Linked DNA regions of Homo sapiens: region 2 is linked to region 1. The links are contacts of gene promoters, found by promoter capture Hi-C in human tissues and cell types (Jung and others, 2019). All regions are on one chromosome and are shown on one strand. Each heading gives the region's core, a stretch centred on a gene start or on the middle of the fragment in contact. The rest is flanking DNA. Distances are from core to core; before and after follow the strand shown.

Region 1 (3,323 bases), core at 252-2,751:
TTGTTTAGTTATTTTACTTTTTTTTTTGAGACGGAGCCTCGTTCTGTCGCCCAGCCTGGAGTGCAGTGCTGCGATCTCTGCTCACTGCAACCTCTGCCTCCTGGGTTTAAGCGATTCTCCTGCCTCAGCTTCCCGAGTAGCTGAGATTATAGGTGTATGCCACCACGCCCAGCTAATTTTTGTATTTTTATTTTATTTTACTTATTTATTTATTTATTTTGAGACGGAGTTTCGTCCTTGTTGCCCAGGCTGGAGTACAATGGCGTGCTCTCGGCTCATTGCAACCTCCGCCTTTCGGGTGAAAGCGATTCTGCTGCCTCAGCCTCCCGAGTAGCTAGGACTACAGGTGCCCGCCACCATGCCCGGCTAATTTTTGTATTTTTAGTAGAGATGGGGTTTCACCGTGTTGGCCAGAGAGGTCTCGAACTCCTGACTTCAGGTGATCTGCCCGCCTTGGCCTCCCAAAGTGCTGGGAATACAAGCGTGGGCCACCGCGTCCGGTCAACTTTTTAAATTATTATTTTAAATTATTTTAAATATTTTTAGAGACGGGTGTGGGTGGGGGGGGTTTCACTATGTTGTTCAGGCTGTTCTCGAACTCCTGGCCTCAAGCGATCTTCCCGCCTCGGCCTCCTTCAAAGCGCTGGGATCACAGGCAGGAGCCACGGCGCCCGATCCTAGGCGGGGTCACTTTTTACTAAAATGTAGACACGGACTACTAAGAATCAGGAAGCCAGATCTGGCCTGAGTTCTGTCCAAAGTCAGGTCCAAATTCACAGATGCCGAGACGGAGACTCAAGTCGGCAAAGGCACCGCTGAGACTCCCCGCGGGGCTCTCTGACCCAGAGCCGGAGCCAGAGTCGGTTTTCCCGCCGGGAAAATGGGTCTGACGTAGCCCCCTCGGGGCCGTGATACCCGCTCGCACCACTCAGCACGCGGGGCCGGCCCGAGGAACGCAAATATAACCAAGCAGAAGGCTCCGCGCGGGCGGCCACGCCAACCTGAGAACAAAACTCCAGGACCCACCCCGGCCGCCTCTCGCGGCCTCTCGCTCGCAGAGTCCCGCCTCTGCTGAGGGGCGGGGCCGAGAAGAAAGGAGGCGGGGCCTCACCACGAATGGCTAGGATCCCCGCCCATCAGACTTTCGCGGCTTCCGATTGACCAGACTGCTCTGCCTTAGCTTTCAATCTCACGGGCCTTACTCGCTTGCGTCATGGACTAAGCGCACAGCTCGTGTGTGCTTCCGCGGACGGGGATAGTCCGTGATTTCTCCCCGCGCCGTGGCCCGACCGCCTCCTCTGCGCGTCCCCGCTCCCAGGCTCTGGACCTCACGGGATTCGGGGTCCTCACGAGGGTGCTCGAGAGGCCGAGCTAGGGCGTTCGGGCCCGAGCCGCCCGGAGGTGGCGGAGGGATCCGCGTGGGCCGCCGGGCGGGGCACTCGGGGGCGGGGCAGGGGCGGGGCCTGCACGGGGCGGGGCGGGGCGGCGCGGGCGGGGGGCGGAACATGTCTCCCGCCGCAGGAAGATGAGGCAGCGGCGGCGGCTGCGGGCGTAGCGGGCCGGAGCCGACGCGGCGGCGGGCACCGCGGGCACCGCGCACGCCGCTGCCCCAGGGGCGCCCCGGCCGGCCGCGCGCACGGGCCCCGCGGGACGGGCCACGCGGGGGTGGGAGGGGCCCGGGCCACGCGCGCCGCCGCCGCCGCCCACGCGCGACCCTCGGGGGCCCGGCCGCGACGCACCTTTGTCCGGGGGGGGGCCCCCCCGCTTCATGCCGCCGCCCCCCCCCACGCGCCGCGTGCCCGGCCGCGCCCAGCAGGTGAGCCCGGCGGGGGGCGGGGGGCGCGCCCGGTACCCCCGTGCTTTGTGCCCAGGGAACCCCGGCCCGCCCCGCGCGCGCTTGTTGGGGGGGGGCGCGGAGGAAGTTGGGGCGGGGGCGGTGTCGGGGGGCGCCCCGCGGCCCGGGAGTCATTGTTCTCCAACTTCGCGCGGCGCCGGGGGGGCGGCGACGTGGAGGAGCCCGGAGCTCGCCAGGCCCGCGTCGCCCCCGTCGGGCCGGGCACTTCGGGAAACTTTAAGCAGCCCCGGGCGGGGGCGCGGGGGGCGCCGGACGGGCTGTGCAACTTAGGCGCGAGGACCGTCCCCCCCAGCCCGGGCGCACGGGGACCCCGGGGCGCCCCCTTTCTCGGGTAGAGGGGGGCCCGGCCCGGGCGCCGGAGTTTGGGGTGGGGAGCGCGCGGGAGGGACGTCCTTTTGTCTGCGCGGGGAAGGTGCCGCGCGCTGCAGGCGCTGGTCGGGGCCGGGCGGGCCGGGGGGGGGCGCGCGGGTAACATCTGCTCCGCGTTAATGCGGGGCGAGGCGGCGGCCGCGCTGCGAGCTTCAAAGGCTCCCGGGCCGCACCGCCTGCACCGGCTGCGGGGGGAGGGGGGTCCGGCTTCCCGGGCCGCCTCCCCCCGGGAAAAAGGCGTTCCAGCGCGCCCCCCGCCTTCGGCGCCGTGCAAAGTGGCTTCAAACATTCTCCAAGTCTCTCAAAGTCCTTGGGACGCCCCAGAAGTCTTCCAGCTCCCGTAGAATGCCCGTTTTAGCTCGCCACCCCCCCAACTAAGTCTGTCTTAAAATCGGTTTCAGCTACCCCACAAAAAAGTGCGGTTTCGTAGTCCTCAAAAAAAGTCAGTTTCACACGCCCTCCAAAAAAGAAAAAAACTGAGCGGGGGAGGGGCTGCGCTGGGGCGCCCGCTTCACACCCGGCCTCCAGTTGGCAGACAAAGAGGGGATTTCTCTGCTTCTGAAGTTGGGTCTCCCTCGACCTCGGAGGCTCCTCCCCACCCCCAGCCTCGGAGGTGTCTCCCGGGCTGCCCCCGTCCCCACCTGGGGACCCCTGGGGAAAGTCGAGACTGGAGGGGCCTGGAGTGCATTTCTTTGGAATGGAAATTTTTCTCTGTACCTTTTTCTGGGGGTGGAATGGGTCTTGGCAGGTGGATCCCCCATCCCCCATCTTAGAATGGAGCCCCCTGGGACCACGCGGGAGCACCCTGGTCTTGAGACGCTCTCCCCGCTCATGGAGGGCAGGCAAGGGATGTTGTCAAAGTTTTGCTTAAAAATAATTCCCGGATACATCGCGACAGTAAAGCAATCTAGGGCTGTTTTTTTTTTCTTTCCTGAATACTGTTGGGGTTTTCTTGGGGGGAGGGAGATTGAGGGTGGAGGAAAGCTTTGCTGGTCCCTGCATAGGATGCGCGTCCCCCCCACCCCCGGCACTTTAAGTCTTGAAGCTTGTAAAAGAGTTTCGTGGTTTTCTGACTTGTGGATTTCCTTCATGTTGAATT
Region 2 (3,323 bases), core at 427-2,926, 680 kb before region 1:
GTGGCATGCACCTGTAATCCCAGCTATTCGGGAGGCTGAGGTGGGAGAATTGCTTGAACCGGGAGGCAGAGGTTGCAGTGAGCCTAGATCATGCCACTGCACTCCAGCCTGGGCGACAGAGCGAGACTCCGTCTCAAAAAAAAAAAATAGATCTGCTTCGGAAAAGCCTTCCCAGGCAAACTGAGTCCCTCTCTCCACAGAGTTCTGTGATCTTTCTTCCACCTCTGGCTTTCCCCCTCCTTCCAAATGTCTGGGGAGCTCTAGGTGCCTGGCTGCAGAATGGGGGGAGTCCAAAGGGGGCTGACAGAGCAGCTGGGGGTAGGACTGGGGTTCTCAGAAAGCTTCCGAGGGGGCCCGACAGCCTTGCAGAGACCAGGGGCATCTCAGGGTAAGAGAAAAGACTAGAGAGTGAAGCGACTGCAATGAGCTGCAGGCTTCCCCAGCAGCCAGGTCACAACTGGACGGCGCACTCATCTGGATGCGACACGGTCTGACATACTTTGAAAGGGTCACCCCTGCTGTGTCGAGGATGGACTGGGGATGTGGTGGACAAAGGCAGCCACAGCAGAGGGATAGCGGTGGGGCTGGAGGAGTGGAGACTGAGGAGCCAGGTGGCGGCGACGCCTTAAGAGTGAGAACTCTGAGGGGGTAGTGAAGGTTAAGGGCTGCATTTGTGGGGCTGCTCCAGGTTCCATTGCCTGAGCCACCGAACTCAGGAGAGAGGGAAGATTTGGAATTAAGAAAATAAAAGATGCAGTTATGACAGTGCGATCTCGTAGACTGTCCCCACTAGAACCTGACACTCTTTACATCAAATGACACACAATGAACATAATGAAGGCCTGTTGGCCCTGGGCGCTGGTCACCCTGGACAGAACCTCCAGAATCCACACCATAGTCGGTCCTCCTTCTGCACACGAATTCCATCGTCCAAGGTCACGGAGTAAAAGATGGAGCGGGGATCCGACCCCAGTGCAGGGCTGGACTCCTGGCCGCTCCAGGATGCTGCCAGTTACTGGGGGACGCGCGGGACGCCTCTGGGTTCCCCCACCGCACCCCCTAGGGTGAGGTTAGCTTAGCACCGTGCCCGTTCCGCCTAAGGGGAAACTGAGGCTCGGAGAGGGGTGGGCAGCCGCCTGCTCAAGGCCACAGAGCCGGAGAGAGGCGTCCCCGGCGGCAACTGGAGACCCCGAAACGGAGAAGCAGAACCGGAGGATGGAGGGGGCACAAATTTCAGACCCGGTGGGAAGTGAGTGGCGCTGCAGCGGCGGAGGGCCTCCGAGGCGGGGAAAGGAGAGGAGCCGGGGACAGACCCGCAAGGTCACGGCCGAGCCCCGGCACCGCCGGCCGACAACGCGGGGACGGCGGATCCCCGAGGCTGGACCCCCAAGACGGGCCGAGCGGGGTCGTTCCTGCGCGTAGCCCGGGGACAGAGAGGCCGAAGGGCCGCAGCCCGCGGTGCCGTCGGGACCGGTGCCGCGCTCACCTGGGCCGCGAGGAGCAGAAAGGCCGCCAAAAGCCGCGCCAGCGCAGCCGCCACCGCTGCCGCCATGTCGGCCGGTGCCCGCCGCAACCAACGGCAGATGTTTCCCAGCAACGCCCCGAGACCCCGGGCCACGCATGCGCCGCGCATGCGCGTGGGGGAGGTCAAAGGGCGCGGGGCGGTGCCTGCGAAGAGCCACACGGCGCGACAAGATGGCGGTGAGCGCGCGGCGGAATCTGGAGCCGGGGGGCGTGGAGCTCGGGCCGCGCTCCAGGTCTCATGCGCTCTGCTTTCCCCGCAGGATAAGGAGAAGAAGAAAAAGGAGAGCATCTTGGACTTGTCCAAGTACATCGACAAGACGATCCGGGTAAAGTTCCAGGGAGGCCGCGAAGGTGAGGAGGCTCCCGCTGTCGGTACCCCCTCTTTAAAAATTTCAAATAAACCCAGCAACAGAGATGATGAGGACGCATGCGGAAGCACCTCTTTTATTTATTTTCATTATTTTTTTTGAGACGCAGTCTCGCTCTGTCACCCGGGCTGGAGTGCAGTGGTGCGATCTCAGCTCACTGCAACCTCCGCCTCCCAGGTTCAAGTGATTCTTGTGCCTCAGCCTCCCGAGTAGCTGGAATTAATGTGTACCACCACGCCCGGCTAATATTTGTATTTTTAGTAGAGAGGCCATGTTGGCCAGGATGGTCTCAAACTCCTGGCCTCAAGCGATCTGCCTGCCTCAGCCCCCTAAATTGCTGGGATTTCAGGCATGAGCCACCATGCCCAGCCTAGCATTTTTGACTGGGCAAGTGAGCTGCCTTCTCCTAGCCTCCGTTTCCTCATTTGTCAAATGGGGCTGGTAACTCCACCCACTTCACAGGGGGTGGTGAGAATGAATGGTTACAGGCATGTAATGTAATTGAGGCAGCTCTCAGCAGGAAGTAAGCAGTCAGACAACACGTCACTTATTCAATAGCCTCTTGGATCTTTGGTTTCTTTTTTTTGTAAGACGGGGACCCAAACCTCTTTGTCCCTGGATTGTAGACAACTGGGTGGCATGAGAGTTATTAAAAATCACAGTGCCCCAGCCGGACGGGGCGGCTCACGTGTGTAATCCCAGCAATTTGGGAGTCTGAAGCAGGAGGGTGGCTTCACCCTAGGGTTTGAGGCTGCAGTGAGCTATGACCGCACCACTGCACTCCAGCCTGGGCCACAGAGCAAGGCCCAGTCTCAAAAGAGAAAAAGGAGGCCAGGCACAGTGGCTCATGCCTTTAATCTTGACACTTTGGGAGGCCGAGGCAGGCAGATCAGGAGGTCAGGAGATCAAGACCATCCTGGCCTACGTGGTGAAACCCTGTCTCTACTAAAATACAAAAAGTTAGCTGGGCATGGTGGCGCACGCTTGTAGTCCCAGCTACTCGGGGGGCTGAGGCAGGAGAATTGCTTGAACCCCAGAGGCGAGATTGTGCCACCGCACTCCAGCCTGGCGATAGGGCAAGACTCCGTCTCAAAACAAAAAGAAAAAGGAATATGAATAAAATGTTTTCTCAGTCTACACCATGCTGACTCCGGACATGGAAGGACATGAGTGAGCGGCCGCTCTTGCTGGTCACACTGCTTCCCTTTGTTTTCTGCCCTTCATAGCAAATCACCCATTTAGCAGCTGAAACAGCACCATTTTATTATCTCACAGGATCTGTGAGTCAGGAGCCAGGGTACCACAGCCTCAAGGGCTCTCAGGAGGTTGTAACTGAGGGTTGTTTTTTGGGGTCCATCATCTTGGGGTCTTCTTCTGAGCCCACTGGTTATTGACAGAGCTCAGTGCCTTACCTTTGCAGGGCCAGGGTCC

Evidence for each region. The method cuts DNA at HindIII sites, captures the fragments that hold promoters and counts their contacts. A contact is called where the count stands out against the background at its distance.
Region 2: the fragment with the promoter of LSM7 here is called in contact with the fragment with the promoter of TCF3 in region 1 in 4 of the 25 tissues and cell types used here (IMR-90 fibroblasts, bladder, lymphoblastoid cells and 1 more).

Annotation. Positions count from the first base shown.
Region 1 is chr19:1,650,793-1,654,115 of GRCh38, reverse strand. It overlaps TCF3 (transcription factor 3), which reads left to right and starts at 1,501. Exons shown (of 19, transcript NM_003200.5): 1 at 1,501-1,816. RefSeq lists enhancers at 763-872, 993-1,042 and silencers at 1,333-1,382, 1,393-1,522, 2,053-2,132, 2,223-2,452, 2,260-2,482 and 1 more. The HindIII fragment of the contact is 17,847 bases long and covers 1-3,323 here.
Region 2 is chr19:2,326,939-2,330,261 of GRCh38, reverse strand. LSM7 (LSM7 homolog, U6 small nuclear RNA and mRNA degradation associated) reads left to right here and starts at 1,676. Exons shown (of 4, transcript NM_016199.3): 1 at 1,676-1,701; 2 at 1,785-1,875. The coding sequence starts at 1,696. It overlaps SPPL2B (signal peptide peptidase like 2B), which reads right to left and starts at 1,578. Exons shown (of 15, transcript NM_152988.3): 1 at 1,487-1,578. The coding sequence starts at 1,552. RefSeq lists silencers at 1,292-1,551, 2,572-2,671 and enhancers at 1,762-1,811, 1,822-1,871, 1,307-1,961, 2,242-2,301. The HindIII fragment of the contact is 22,122 bases long and covers 1-3,323 here.